4 separate regions of the Homo sapiens genome follow, and regions 1, 2 and 4 are each linked to region 3. The links are contacts of gene promoters, found by promoter capture Hi-C in blood cells and fetal thymus (Javierre and others, 2016). All regions are on one chromosome and are shown on one strand. Each heading gives the region's core, a stretch centred on a gene start or on the middle of the fragment in contact. The rest is flanking DNA. Distances are from core to core; before and after follow the strand shown.

Region 1 (3,608 bases), core at 1,103-3,602, 330 kb before region 3:
ATGGCGAAACCCCGTCTCTACTAAAAATACAAAAAAAAATTAGGCGTGGTGGTGCACACCTGTAATCCCAGCTACTGGGGAGGCTGAGGTGGGAGAATTGCTTGAACCCAGGCAGCAGAGGTTGCAGTGAACCAAGATCACACCATTGCACTCCAGCTTGGGCGACAGAGCAAGGCTCTGTCTAAAAAAAAAAAAAAAAAAAAATTGGGAAATAAGCCAGAACCTAAGTTTTATATGCCCTAGTTTGCTTGTGTACCCCAATTTTTAAATGTAGACAACTAAAAGTAAACCCCAGTGAGACTAAACATGGTGGTAAGACTAATCTGTACCATCACAAGTGCCATTGCTGTGGCTGAAAAAGACCCTGGGAAAATGACTCCCTCATGTAATTTCAGGGCTTCCCTAGAAACCTTCCATAGCCCCCTCTGTTCTGTCTCCCCCTGGTTCAGTTGTTGCCTGAGTACTCCCAGGTAAGAACTGATGACATTCATCCGACCTTCCATCTCTGAGGCTAACAGAGTGCTGCGGTGGGCGTCCAGATGTTTGTTGAATGGACAAAGCCTTCTGGAAAAGCCTTCTGTATTTCCATACGATTGTGCTCACCTTCTAATGCCAGCAGTGAACTCTTTCAGCCATCAAACTGGAAGCCCACTGGCGTGGGGCCCTGGCTCGGAAGGCAATCCAAAGGAGAAAGTGGGCCGTGCGGATTATCAGAAAGTAAGTTCTCAGGTACAACAGAGAGGACAGGTCACTAAATGCTGGTACCCTGCAGGGATGGTCATGGAGGTAGATGAGTTCTTTGTGATTTTTTGATTTGTGCAGAAAGGAAAAACTCCCTTCAGAATGCCATTAGGAATTCAGGTCCATCCCTTTGCTCTGAGCTGAATTTGATGGTGATCACAACTCAATGTATTTGGAATTTCTCTTAGCCTGGCTCAAAAGTCACAAAGTCAAATGCCTTCTGATGCCAGGCAGGTAAAGTGAGTGAGTCTCATGGGCTGGGATAAGACAACAGGGCATGGTGGAGACCAGCAAACTGGAACGCTCAGTCTACCTCAAGGTGGGGCGGTAACTAGCCCATTCCAGTTTACTGCTGCTGTGGGGAAATGTAGCCAGATGGCTTGAATTTTCAAGGAACGCTGAAATCTGGCTTTTGGGGTTTTGTTGTTGTTGTTTGTTTTTTTTGTTTGAGATGGAGTCTCACTCTGTCGCCCAGGCTGGAGTACAATGGTGTGATCTCGGCTCACTGCAACCTCCGCCTTCTGGGTTCAAGCGATTCTCCTGCCTCAGCCTTCCAAGTAGCTGAGATTACAGGCACACACCACCACACCCGGCTAAATTTTTTGTATTTTTAGTAGAGAGACAGGGTTTCACCATGTTGGTCAGGCTAGTCTCGAATTCTTGACCTCAAATGATCCGCCTGCCTCAGCCTGCCAAAATGCTGGGATTACAGGCATGAGCCACCATGCCCAGCCTTGAAATCTGGCTTTTATGCCCTGCTTCCTAACTTTTTAAAATTGGCAGCTAATTAAAGCTCCTCAAAACAAAACAAAAGGCCGTGTGGGTGAAATCGAACATATATGTGGGGCAGATTTGGCCTCTGGCCTATGTGGTCATCTCCACAGCCTCTACCACTTTGGCCGCCTCTGAATCAAAGAAGGGGGAAGAGAATGTAAATCTCGGTGAAGAAATGGTCCAGAAAAGTAAGAAAACATTTTCCTTTTTAGGTTCATTAAAGGATTCATCAGTCGCAACAAACCCCTCTGTCCTGACAACGAGGAATTTATCGTGTTTGTGCGGAAGAATTACATCTTGAATCTCCGGTATCACCTTCCAAAGACTGTCCTGGACAAGAGCTGGCTGAGGCCTCCTGGCATCTTGGAAAATGTAAGGACTAATCTGGGATTTCCAGTGTTGTAAGTAGCACGGGCACTGACGAAGCTTAACTCTTGCATGTCTTTGTGCTGCCTCCCTTTGGCTTGAAAGGGCTGCCCTGGCAAAGCCCTTCTTCCCAAGGATGCTGCACAAGAAATTGAACTCCTCAGAATTTGCGATGTCCTTAGTAGCATTATAAAGCCACTGGAGTGTCCTTAGTAGCATTATAAAGCCACTGGAGGTTGTTTAAACAGAGCACTTTTTTTTTTTTTTTGAGATGGAGTCTTGCTCTGTCACCCAGGCTAGAGTGCAGTGGCGCGATCTTGGCTCACTGCAACCTCCGCCTCCTAGGCTCAAGTGATTCTGGTGTGTCAGCCCCCCTGAATAACTGAGATTACAGGCGCCCGCCACCATGCCTGGCTAATTTTTGTATTTTTAGTAGAGACGGAGTTTTGCCATGTTGGCCAGGTTAGTCTCGAACTCCTGACCTCAAATGATCTGTCCGCCTCAGCCTCCCAAAGTGCTGGGATTACAGGTGCGAGTCACCGTGCCCAGCCGACAGAGTACTTTCGAATCATTTCTATTCCTGACGTAGCCTTCCTAGAATAGCATCCCTCAAGAGATGATCTGAGGACCCTCTGTGTCTGGAACTTAGAGGCGGGGCTGTTGTAAGAGTCCCGGGCTCCACTTTGGACCCACTGAGTCAGAATCTCCAGGAATCTCATTATAGCCAGTTCTGCAGGTGAGTCATAAACATATTCAAGTTTGAGAATCATTCGTTAAGCAACAGCAAAAAGTTGGGAGAGGATCAGGTTAGCTGCTGTGACTATAAAATATAAAATATTAACACTGTGCTTGAAATCAAACTGAATTCAGCAGTGTTTTTTTAAAGCTTCATTTTGATCGCCACAGCCCCAGACAGGGAGTGAGTGAGGCAAGTGGAAAGAAGTGTGTTCTCCACACAGGCATCAGATCTGCTCAGGAAAATGTGCGTGAGGAACCTGGTGCAGAAGTACTGCCGCGGGATCACAGCTGAGCGGAAAGCAATGGTAGGGACATGATGTCTGCGGTGGCCGGTGGTGGGGGTGGGTGTAAGAGTGGGTCCTGAGTGTCAGTCCTCCTCATCCACCATTTCACCTATAAGCGGGGGTCATGCTAGTCCCATGCTTTGAAATGTTCAAGATAATTGCAGGTAGACCTGCAGAGAGCCCTGGATGAATGCCAGCTGTTACTGTAATCAGCATGGCTCCGTTTGTTACCATGGGAACACAATCACAACGGCTCCTGCCATCCATCCACCGGAGCAGAGAATGTAGACCCCTTTCTGCTGGAAATCTGTTTTTCACCGTGCTAACCTGCGGGTCTTTTGTGTAAAGGGCTAGAAGAGTAACTATTTCAGGGTTTGTGGCCTTTCTCTGTTGGAATTACTCAACTCTGCTGCTACAGTGAGAAAGCAGCCATGGACAATGTGTGCATGAATGGCATGGCTCTGTCCCAATAGAATGTTACTTACAAAAAGGGACAGCAGGCTGAGTTTGGCCTGCAGGCTGTGGTTTCCCAATCCCTGATCTACAAGAAACTGCTCTTGGAACTCTGGAAAATCCACTTTCAGGAAGGTAGTAAGGGAACGAGCAGAAACGTCAACCCAGTCTCTACCAATATGACTTTCAGGGCATTTTGGCCAAAGCCAGGAAGGTGTTCTGACTTGTATGCTCCAGGGTAACAAGGCTCCC
Region 2 (3,649 bases), core at 396-2,895, 270 kb before region 3:
TGTGAGTAAGAACAAAAGAGGATAAAAACCAGCCCATTATCCTGTAAACCAAAGATAACTTGAGTGAACATCCTGTCAGTTTTCCTATCTAGAAATACTGATCCTTTTTTACAAAATTGAAATCCTATTATTTTGTATTTTGTTCCTTCCATTCAGCTATGGACCTTATCAATGTTTTTTCTTCTTCACTGTCACTTTTTGACTAGACTGCCATATTTTGGAGATGCTAAAACAAGACAAATGATTCAAAGGGAATAGAAATCACCCAAAATCCTTTTCAAGAGGTGGAATATAAATTTTTAAAAGTGTAATTATGAACTTAAAAACATGAGAAACACTAGACTAGAAGAAGGGAGATCAAGTAAGGTGCAGCTTCATGAATTTGAAATATCTACCTGAGCTGAGATAAAGTGGTTTCTGGAGAGGAACCAGCTCTGCTGCCCCAGCTGTTTTCTTGTTCACATATCTGCTCGAGGCATGGGGTCCCTGGCAGTTACCCTTGCAGCAGAAAACTAAAGGCCTGGGGAGGAAATCCCCAAATTTTTCTTTTGTTGTACCTGAGTGACATCCCTGGGTCCTATCTAGTTAAAAAGACTCATTGCTAGGGAACAGCCTGCCCCAGCGTGACACCTCAGCCTGAGGAGGATGGGGCGGAGGTGCTGAGAGTCAGGAGGCTGTGGGAGGTAAGTGAAGGAGAGCAGCACCTCCGCAGACAGCCTGCTCTCCGCTCCACTTCCTCTTCTTGGAGGGACTTGGACGACTTGCTTTGCCTTGCTTTCCTCATCTGAAACCTGGGGATAATTTTCACCCTCCCTTTGATAGGGCTTTCTAGAAAGATTGAATGAGATAATGCATGTGAAGCACCTACCAGCAGGCAGGCCTGGCCGTACTCAGGGGTGGCGGCTATTAACAATATGATGATCAATGTGGGAACCACTAGGAGTCTCACCTCACCTTCTTGAGCAGGAAGGTGACAGCAGATTCCAGGAAGTTGAGGGATGCTGAGTGCAGTGTGGAGTCAGGCAAGGAACCCCTGGAATGCAAGGAAACACTGAGGAGGCTGCTGAGTCATCTAGATTTGGCCCCCCACCACCTGCAAGCCAGCTATGAGGAGGGAGGCAGTGCAGTGGGTACAAGATTGTTTTTGTCACCTGGGTGGTAGCAAGTGTCTTCGAGAAGAGTGTGACTCATGGAGCTTGGGGACCTGGGGAAAGCAGACAAGATGAAGAGTCAATGCCCTTGACGTACCAGCCCCTCAGCAATGATTTGTTAGTTCCACTTTTTATTTTTGTAATCTTCTTTGCCATGTTGAGTGCCAGGTCCTAGCTACAGCTCCGAGTGGAAGGCCATTAGGAACTGTGTGGGCTGGCCCTGGCCCTGCATCAGATGGAACTGACAGACCAGGTCTCCTCTGCTCTCTCCTAGCCTTAACGAGTCAATGCACTTGATCACCAAACAGCTGCAGTTCTTGTGGGGGGTGCCTCTGATCCGGATCTTCTTCTGTGACATCCTGAGCAAGAAGCTACTGGAGAGCCAGGAGCCAGCCCACGCACAGCCAGCATCCCCTCAGAATGTGCTCCCAGTGAAGAGTGAGTGACGGGAGCAGGCCCAACCCTGTAGCTCCACTTGGCTGAAGTACAGCTCCTGTTTCTTCCTATATGGATGTTCCGCTGTGTTTGTGGGATGCTCTAACTTTGTTTTTGTTGTTATCGTTCTTGTTGTTAGAGACAGAGTCTCACTGTATTGCCCAGGCTACAGTGCAGTGGCATGATCATAGCTTACTAGCCTCTAACTCCTAGGCTCAGGTGATCCTCCCACGTCAGCCTCCCAAGTATAATAGCTGGGACTACAGGCGTGTACTGCCATGCCTGGCTAATTTTTTTTTTTTTTTAATTTTTGTAGAGATGGGGGCCTTACCTTATTGCCCAGGTTTGTTTCCAATTCCTGACCTCAAGTGATCCTCCTACCTCAGCCTCCCAAAGTGCTGGGGTGACATATATGAGCCACCATACCTGGCCTCCAGCTTGTTCCACAACAATTTTGAGGCTTGTTAGGTCACTAAGTTCATATATAGCAAAACAAAAAATCCATAAGAATAGAAAACAAGGATTGGGGAAATAGAAATAGGTGAACACAATCAAGATTGGGTCATAAAAGCATGTCCACACACATATGTTACATTAGGGCCACTGTGGCTACCTGTGAACTTCAGTTTGGCTGTGAACCAACATGAAATGTTTCAGAAACCGACATGAAAAGGGGTCTGTGGATGCTTTCTTCTAATTTCTTAGAAGTAGAGCTTTTCTGAGTTCTTAAGAAAATAAATCTCCCATGTGGGACTCCTTATAAAGGAGCCACTCACTGAACCACAGGCGGGGCTAGCGCTTCAGTGGCTTTCCTATCGCAGGGTCAGTAATGGGTTCCATGGGAAGGTTCTCGTTGCACGCTCTTATTAAAAGTTATGGAAAGGCCACTAATGCATAATTTGACAGAGTTACCTGCCTGTGGTGGGTTTTCAGGTTCAGGGTGTCTGTTCTTCTACTGAGTGTGTTGCAAAACTCTGTCTCATAGCTAGCAGTAAGCGTGGGCTCAGCAAATGTGACTCCAGCAGGATATCAATGGGAAGGTTGAAAACAAAGGTAGAATATCATTCAAAACCAGGTGTCAGAACTAGAGGTTGTCACGCCTTACTTCCCTCTAAAGGCACAGAAAATAGAGATGTAGCCAGGGCCCCTGCCTTTGCCCCTCTTTCCCTAATATAGTCCTCTGAATTTTTACCATTGTGGGTTTTGAAATTTGGTGATTTCCAGTATAAGAATCCCATGTAAGATTTGAATATGCCTGGCTTATTCTGAGAAATATTTGGGTATTCTGAAGAGATCTTTGGGTTGTACCTAAAAACCTGTTGTTAATGTTTTTCTAATTTATCCCAAAGAAATGCCTTGAATTGAGTGAGTTGCCCCACTGTCTGGCCTGGCTGTGCATTTAGAGCTTTACTGAAATGCTCTTCCTTTTCCAGGGTGGGATTTGGCAGCTGGCTGAGCTGCTGCTCACATGTCTTCTTTTCTCCATGCCAGGTCTCCTAAAGCGTGCTTTTCAAAAGTCGGCATCAGTCCGGAATATTCTCAGGCCTGTCGGGGGTAAACGGGTCGACTCTGCAGAAGTCCAGAAGGTTTGCAACATCTGTGTCCTCTACCAGACCTCGCTGACAACTCTCACACAGATTCGGCTGCAGATACTCACAGGTTCGCAGTCCCCAGGGCATCTTCTTCACCTCTCACATTTGGCAGACAGTTTGTCTTAGCAAAAGTCGATGTTTTTTTCTGGCTTCTTTGACTCTGAAAATAGATTCTGAAGGAGGGCATTTTTGAGCTGTTCCTCTTAGAGATTAGTCCACCTCAGTTACATTGCTCATGCTCACCTCAATCATAAGCACTTGCATCTCATTCCTGTTTTGTGACTCTTACTTTAATTATGAAGTAGAATTTACTTTTAAAAAGTTTCTGTTTTCTGAGTAAAGAAGCAAAAAAGATAGGGTTGCAAAAAAAAAAGGAAAAAGAAAACCACTTTTAATTCCATAATCCAAAAACAGTCAACTGTGCCTGAGTGTACTGCACATATAAAATAAATATATTTAAATTGAAATATA
Region 3 (3,766 bases), core at 608-3,107:
GAGGAGCTGGGAAAAGCAGAGCTCCATGGAAGGCAACCGGGAATCATCACAAATAGGACATAACTAGTATAAACTGCAATTGACAGAGTGCTTTTCTGACCTCACTTGAGTCTATCAGGTAGATGATAAAATCAGGCCCATTTTACAGATGAGGACACAACCTGACCAACGGCCACGAGGATGTTGAGAGGGAGCGAGGTGTTCTGGCTGCAAGCCCCACCCCCACCCTCATTCATAATCAAAGCCCGCCTGGGTGCAGCCGGAACCCGGGGGAGCCTGGACGGGGCAAGCCCAGCAGGCCCAGCCTCTGCAGTGAGCTAGACTTGGGTTCCAATCCTGATAATGCCACCGTGAGTGACCCTAACCAATCCATTTCCCAAGGGGGGGCGGCACCAGAACCAGAGATGGAATTCAAGCAGACAAAAGCACAGTGTGAGCACTCGGGGAGGGAGTGGGGCAGGAAACCAAGGTCTAGGGCCAGGTGTTACACTGGGAGGTGGCCTATGTCTCAGCTGTTCCCAGGTGTCACCACTGGGGCCACCCAAGCACCAACTTGGTCACCCAGGTCCCCATGTCCTTGGTCAACTGCCAGGCGTACCCACACTGGGGCATCAGGAGAGGGGAAACGGGAGAGGCTGGAGCCACTCTCCATGCCCGGTCCCTCATATTTGGATATCAGAGCAAAGGATGCACCTGCTATCCTGGAAAAACCTCCTCATCCTCCACAGGGTGGGGTCTGTGTGCGTGGCAATGTAGGGGCGCATGGCACAGTCTGGGTCTGGGCCCAGGAACCCAGCTGGGGCTCTAGCCCTGACTACCTGTGCCTCCTTGGGCCTCAGTTTCCCCATCTAGGAACTGGGCTGGCTGATCTCAAAGTGCCCTCCGGTGGCCATTCTAGCATGGTTTCTTTATACAATCAATCACCTTTGATTACCACATTGATGGGGGGAGGACAGGTGACGAAAGCATTGCTATCACTGCTACAATTACTGAGATCCCACACTTAACTACAGGCAGACCAGATACCAGGCTCGGGGCTAAACGTTACTTGTGCCTCACAACCACTCGGCGCAACAGAGGTGCATGCACCCACATTACAGACAAGGTTAGTGAGACCCACAGAAGGGCAATCACTTTGCCCAAAGTCACACAGCTGAGGATGAAGAATGGAGAAGTGGCTGGGATAGAACACAGGCCTGTCTGATTCTGAGTCCTAGTTCCCAGCTGCAACCCTTTGCAGAGAATAGAAAACAACTGTCAACCGCCAAATGTGGCCAATTTGGCTCCAGAACCCAGGCACAGCCTTGGATCCCAGAGCCCCAACTGCCCAGACATCCCGGTGGGTGAGGGAGAAAGAGAGGAGAAGCCACCATCTCATCCAGGCCCCGGGCAGGAGCTGCAGTCCTTCTCTAGGTCTCTGTTCTGACACTAGGATCCTTCTCTCTCTACTTAGCTGTCCTGGGCTCACACCCTTTACCACGGAGCTGTCCAATACGGTAGCCTGGTGTGCAGAAAACCTCGGCTATCACTTCCTGTCATAGTGACCATTAGAAGATCACCCCAGGTCAGAGACAGGTGACCTTACAGAGAGATCAGAGCTGCCCCAGAAGGCCACGGGGGCTCAGGCGCAGATTTGGATAGAGGAAGCTATGTTAGTAGACACTCACCTTTCCAGGGTGGCTCTGTGTTTTCTTCACTCATATCCCTGTCTTTATATCACAACCCCATTTCTGGAGCGGGGAAACTGAGACAAGTTCCAACTTCTGAACTTGCCATCCAAACAGCGACTCCTAACTTTGCCCTACTCAGCTCCCTCGGCTGCAGCCTGGACTCCTCCACGCGCAGCTCCACGTGTGCCCAGCACCACTGCGCCTGCCCATCCCTCCCGGGCGCTCTTAAAGGGCCCACACCCCGTCCCACCCCCAACGTTGGCCGGAGAAGGTGGAGTCCAGCCAGCGCGATAGGTGAGAGCAAGGGACGAAAGGTTTTCTGTTTAAATTGCCACCATCACCAGCTCGCCAGCGAGTGGCAGGGGGAGGGGAGGAGGCAAGAAAACGGAACTTAGTATCCCACTGACTCCACGTGTGACCCTGGGTGACTTGTGTGCCTCTCTGAGCCTCAATTTCCAGATCTGTTGAAGGAAGTGGTGGCACCTGGAGGAGTGAGGTGGCATCAGGTGATGTGTGGTCAGGATGATAGGGCAGATTCGTCCTGTAAGAGGACCCCTCTGAGTGCTGTGGGATGTAGTTGTCTGAGGGTCAGAACTCGTTCCATCCTGAGGCTGTGTGCAGGTGTGTGTGACCTCAGGCAAGTGATCACTCCTGAGTCATCTATTTCCCAACTGTAAAATGAGGCTCCAACGGGGAGCTGTGGCTCATACCTGTAATCCCAGCACTTTGGGAAGCAAAGGCTGGAGGATCACTTGAGCCCAGGAGTTCAAGACCAGCTTGGGCAGTATCACGAGACCCCTATCTGTACAAACAATTTTAAGATTAGCTGGGTGTAGTGTGTGCCTGTAGTCCCAGATACTCAGAAGGCTGAGGTGGGAGGATCACTTGAGCCCAGGAGGTCAAGGCTGCAGTGAGCCATGATCGCACCACTGCACTACAGCCTGGGCAACAGAACAAGACCTCGTCTCATAAAATAAAATGAGGCTAATATTTTAATGTATGTACCATGTGAGGTTTAACTTAGGAGACAGGTGGTCAAATCCCCTGGGTAGCACAGAGCCATTAGGTAAAAGACATATAACAAAGGTGGAGTATTCCCATCCTTGCCTAGTGCAGCTGACTTCCAAGTCACCTTGGAAAGTGGGTTTCCCAGTCAAAAGAGTTTGAGAAACAGATGCCTATCCCGGCTCTTGGAGATACACAAATCGCATTAACATATTAAAGATGCTAACAGATCCTGCAGGCAAGATTCCCTTTTAACTTCTTTGCAGTGGCACAGTCTCGGCTCACTGTAACCTCTGCCTTCCAGGTTCAAGTGGTTCTCCTGCCTCAGCCTCCTGATTAGCTGGGATTACAGGCATGCTCCACTACACCTGGCTAATTTTTGTATTTTTAGTAGAGATGGGGTTTTGCCATGTTGACCAGGCTGGTCTCAAACTCCTGACCTCAAGTGATCTGCCTGCCTTGAAGGCCTCCCAAAGTGCTGGGATTACAGGCATGAGCCACCACGCCCAGCCCCCTTTTAGCTTTAACCCAGCATTTCCCTAACTTTTTTGACCACCTAAGTTTTTGTTTCCACCTATTTACACCCCATGGAACAAACAAGACTTCAGGAAATGCTGAGTCCTGCCTCTTGTATTGCAATTGGGGAAACTGGGTAAGTCCTTTCTCCTCTCTGGACCTCAGTTTCCCCAATTACACTGCAAGGACTCATAATGAGTTTGTGGCAGAGCAAGGACTGGAACCCAACCCTGACCTGGGTGGCTGGGTCTCATTTCTAGTACGCCCTAACTGGTCCTGTCCCTCATATTGAATTAGGCACAAAAGAAGGGGAAGGCCCTCAGGGAAGAGGAAGAAGCCACATTTGAGAAGTAGGGGTGAGTACTCTTATTTTGAAAGAGAGGAAACTGAGGTTCAGAGAGGGGAGGCAACTTGCCTGAAGGCACACAGCAACTTGGTCCTGAACGCTCCAGAGGCAGTCGAGGCCACCTTCTCTCCTTCTTGGGGTGAGGGTACGAGGGTGGGGGTGGGATATTTCCTGTCTCAAAGCCTCAGGGCACACCCAACAGGGTGCTCACAGGGAGTCTTCCTGATCA
Region 4 (3,503 bases), core at 322-2,821, 390 kb before region 3:
TTGACCGATAGATATACTCATGTAACCCACAGCCCTATCATGATATGGAATGTTTTCATCACTCCAAAAATGTCATTTGCCTGACAACTCCTCAACTAGGCAACAATTGTTCTGATTTTTCACTGTGGATTAGTTTTGCTTGTCCCAGTGTGCCATATCAATGGAATCCTACAGTACGACTCTTTTGTGTCTGGGCTCTTTCACTCAGCATAATGTCTGTGAGAGTCATCCATGCTCTTGCGTGTACCCGTTATTTCTCTTTTATTGCTGTCCTCCTTCTATTGTACAGATGGGCCACAGCCATTCTCCAGTTGATGGGGATTTGGATTGTTTCCAGTTAGGGGCCGTTCTGAATAAAGTTGAGCATGAGTTGAACTTCATGTTCAAGTCTTTTTGTAGACATATGTTTACATTTCTCTTGTGTAAATACTTAGGAGTGGAATCGCTGGATCAAAGAATAGAGGCATGGTTAACTTCATTAGAAACTGCCAGATCTTTTTCCCAAAGTGATTCTCTTTGCATTCCTACCAGAAGTGCGAGAGAATTCTGTCTGCTCCGCATCCTCACCAGTATTTGGTGTTGTCAGTGTTTTTAATTTTAACTATTGTGGTGGTATCTCATTGTGGTTTTAATTTGTGTTTCCCTGATGACTAACAATGTTGACCATTTTTCTATGTGTGTATTGCCAATTTGTCTATCTTCCTTTGTGAAGTGTCTATTCAAGTCTTTTGCCAAATTTTCATTGGGTTTGTCTTTTTATTATTGGACTGTAGGTGTCTTTTATTCTGGATACAAATTCTTTGCGTCTGTATAATTTAGGAATATTTTCTGCTGTTCTGTGACTTGCCTATTTTCTTAACAGTGTCTTCTAATGAGAAGCTTTATATTTGGTGAAGTCTGATTTCTTATTTTGTGTCTTTTATTATTATTTCTTCCTGGCTCTCATCTAAGAAAACTTTGCCTTCCCCTGGTTACAAAGATGGTCCCCTTGTTTACTTCCAGTAGCTTTATATAGATTTTAAATTTGCATTTAGGTCTAAGATGCATCTCAAGTTCGTGTGTGTGTGTGTGTGTGTGTGTGTGTGTGTGTGTGTGTGTGTGTAGTGTAGTGTAATGTAATATAGGGACTGAAATGCATTTTTACTTTCTTTTTCTATTTATATATTTTTAAGTAGAGATGGGAATCTCCCTGTGTTGCCCAGGCTGGTCTCCAACTCCTGGCTTTAGACAATCCTCCTGCCTCAGCATCCCAGTGTGCTGGGATCACAGCTGTGAGCCACCACACACAACTGCAATTTTTTTTCTTTATAAATATCTAGTTGTTCCTGCACCATTGGATGGAAATGTTTTCCATTTCTGTGCTGAATTGTTTTGGGACCTCTACTGAAAATCAATTGAGACGCAGTCTTATTAAACACAGTCTTATTCTAGCTTTGTTTTTCTTTTGCAAGGTTAATTTGGCTATGCTAGGACCTTTGCATATCCATATGTACCAGTTGTCAATTTATTGCCTCTCAGATCCAAATTCACCCTTCATTACCTGCTGAGCAATAACCAACTGCACGCTTTAGGCATTTCTCCTTAAAGTGAACACAATGTCATTTTTGTCACTAGAGGGCACTGGAGGGACATTGCAAAGGCAGGCCGCTTCTCTTCCTGATGTCCTTTGCTATGTTTTGCTTTTTCTTGTTTTCAGACTGTACATTCTGCTGCACGTGGTATGTGGGGGGGACACACACTAACCGTGTGCCCAGAGCACATAGTCTCTCAGTGACCTCACAGCTCTGGCCAAGGGCCTGGTGACCACTTTGTCACAGCCCTCCTGATGCAGACATTACACACTCCAGGCTTCATACCTACTCCTGTTCCCTCTCCCAACGCACACCTGCCCTCTGGCCGCAGCTTGCCTGAGCCCTGGAAGGTTGATTTCCTTGGCCCCCTCCATGGTCTCCCATCCAGCAGCGCGGGTGCTCAGGAAGGTCATGCCTGGTGCCTGCCCAGTGACCGAACCAGCTCTGGCCCTGGTATCCTGGTGAGATTCTTTGCCATCCAATGGGCTGTAGCCACACCTTCTCCAGTGACATCTGAAGCCCATCCTTGGAGAGGAACACTCCAAGTTTGTCCTTCCTTAAATATTCCTCTGTAGCAAGAATTTCCCTTTCTGGCCCAAACTCCTCACCACCCATGTGAGAATTACAAAGTGAGTTTACACAATTAACACTTATTGAAATAAAGAAAAATTAATTTTAAAAAAAGAAAAAATTCAAGCTTGACTAATCAACATAAAGGAAACATTAATTTAAAAAAAACATTTATTGAGTCCATGGTTGTCAGGAAAGCAAGTCTGGGTATGTTGTCTAGGTTCATTTTCTGGCTGCGTCTTTTGGCAGATTTTGGGCGTGGCTTATGACATTCCTATGCCTCAGTTTTCTCATCTGTAGAATGGGCATCATAATAGTATTTCATAGGGTCAGAATGAAGATCAAATGAAACAGTATAAGTCAAGTGTTTAGAATAGTACCTAGCAGTAAATACTTGGTTCCTATCAGCTGCTGCTATTCCTATTTTTTATGATTATGATCTTGTATCCCCAACCATATTGTAAACTCTAAGTGAAGACGGCATAATTTAATGCTGGCTCTCTACTATCCCAGGGTTTAGCATCTTGTTATTTCCATGCATTAGACGTGTAATAGATATTACCAAATAGATGAGCTGCTGAAGAATGTTCTATTTCCCGTAGAAAGAAGACGTGAGGAGGAAACACATCCGTCTGCACATGGAAGGGGCGCTGACTGCCCGGGACAAGGTCGGGGTTCAGGATTTTGTGCTATTGGACGCGTACACCAGCGAATCTGCCTTTGTCGACAACCTCCGCAAGCGTTTCAGCGAGAACCTCATATACGTAACGTGACCCACTTCTCAGCTGTTTTTCTAGGGTGGTTGTTCCCTTCTTGCCTTCACGACTTTGATGAGTGTGAATAATAGCACTCTATTAGGTTAGACATTAAAGGGAGATACTGAGGCGCCACTCTTAGATGCACTTCGATCCTTTGTGCTAAGACGTTTATGGCTGCCCGTGACAGAGACCCAACTTACACCAGCCTAAGTCACTAAAAGGAATCTGTCCATGTCTGTTACTGTAGGTCCCGGGACTAGATCTAGGGTTTCAGACAATGTCTGGCAACTCCTTCTCAATCTCTGCTCTGCTTTCTTAGGCATCCATTTCTTTCTCAAGTGCATGGCAGCAAGATGGCTGCCCTCAGATCCAGGCTGTCATTTTATCAGCTCAGGGTTGCTGCAGAGAAGCGAGCCAATACTCTGGGGATAAGCTCTAGTAAATGGCCCAAGTTGACATTGATCAGCTCTGATTGGCCCACTTTCGGTCATGTGCCTGTCTCTGAACCAATCCCATGGCTAGAAATGAAGACTATTCTGATTGGCCAGGCTCTTACCAGGCCTGCCCCTGAAGGTGAGGGGTGGAGTTGGAGCCCTGGACGGTA

Evidence for each region. The method cuts DNA at HindIII sites, captures the fragments that hold promoters and counts their contacts. A CHiCAGO score of 5 or more calls a contact.
Region 1: a contact is called between a fragment that was not itself captured here and the fragment with the promoter of FAM222A-AS1 in region 3, in 5 of 17 cell types (activated CD4 T cells, total CD4 T cells, naive CD8 T cells and 2 more). The highest score is 6.4, in activated CD4 T cells.
Region 2: a contact is called between a fragment that was not itself captured here and the fragment with the promoter of FAM222A-AS1 in region 3, in 5 of 17 cell types (M2 macrophages, endothelial precursors, M1 macrophages and 2 more). The highest score is 8.4, in M2 macrophages.
Region 4: a fragment that was not itself captured here is called in contact with the fragment with the promoter of FAM222A-AS1 in region 3 in 1 of 17 cell types (erythroblasts); the score reaches 5.1 in erythroblasts.

The regions. Positions count from the first base shown.
Region 1 is chr12:109,437,904-109,441,511 of GRCh38, forward strand. MYO1H (myosin IH) reads left to right here. Exons shown (of 32, transcript NM_001101421.4): 23 at 633-717; 24 at 1,728-1,887; 25 at 2,841-2,924. Among named protein-coding and RNA genes, the nearest start is that of KCTD10, 38 kb to the right of the region's middle. The HindIII fragment of the contact is 826 bases long and covers 1,940-2,765 here.
Region 2 is chr12:109,499,946-109,503,594 of GRCh38, forward strand. It overlaps UBE3B (ubiquitin protein ligase E3B), which reads left to right. Exons shown (of 28, transcript NM_130466.4): 13 at 1,426-1,589; 14 at 3,078-3,245. Among named protein-coding and RNA genes, the nearest start is that of UBE3B, 24 kb to the left of the region's middle. The HindIII fragment of the contact is 9,234 bases long and covers 1-3,649 here.
Region 3 is chr12:109,771,630-109,775,395 of GRCh38, forward strand. It overlaps FAM222A-AS1 (FAM222A antisense RNA 1), which reads right to left and starts at 1,858. Exons shown (of 3, transcript NR_026662.2): 1 at 1,668-1,858. RefSeq lists an enhancer at 447-946 and a silencer at 3,675-3,766. The HindIII fragment of the contact is 7,576 bases long and covers 1-3,766 here.
Region 4 is chr12:109,385,940-109,389,442 of GRCh38, forward strand. MYO1H (myosin IH) reads left to right here. Exons shown (of 32, transcript NM_001101421.4): 2 at 2,744-2,905. Among named protein-coding and RNA genes, the nearest start is that of LINC01486, 28 kb to the left of the region's middle. The HindIII fragment of the contact is 1,389 bases long and covers 878-2,266 here.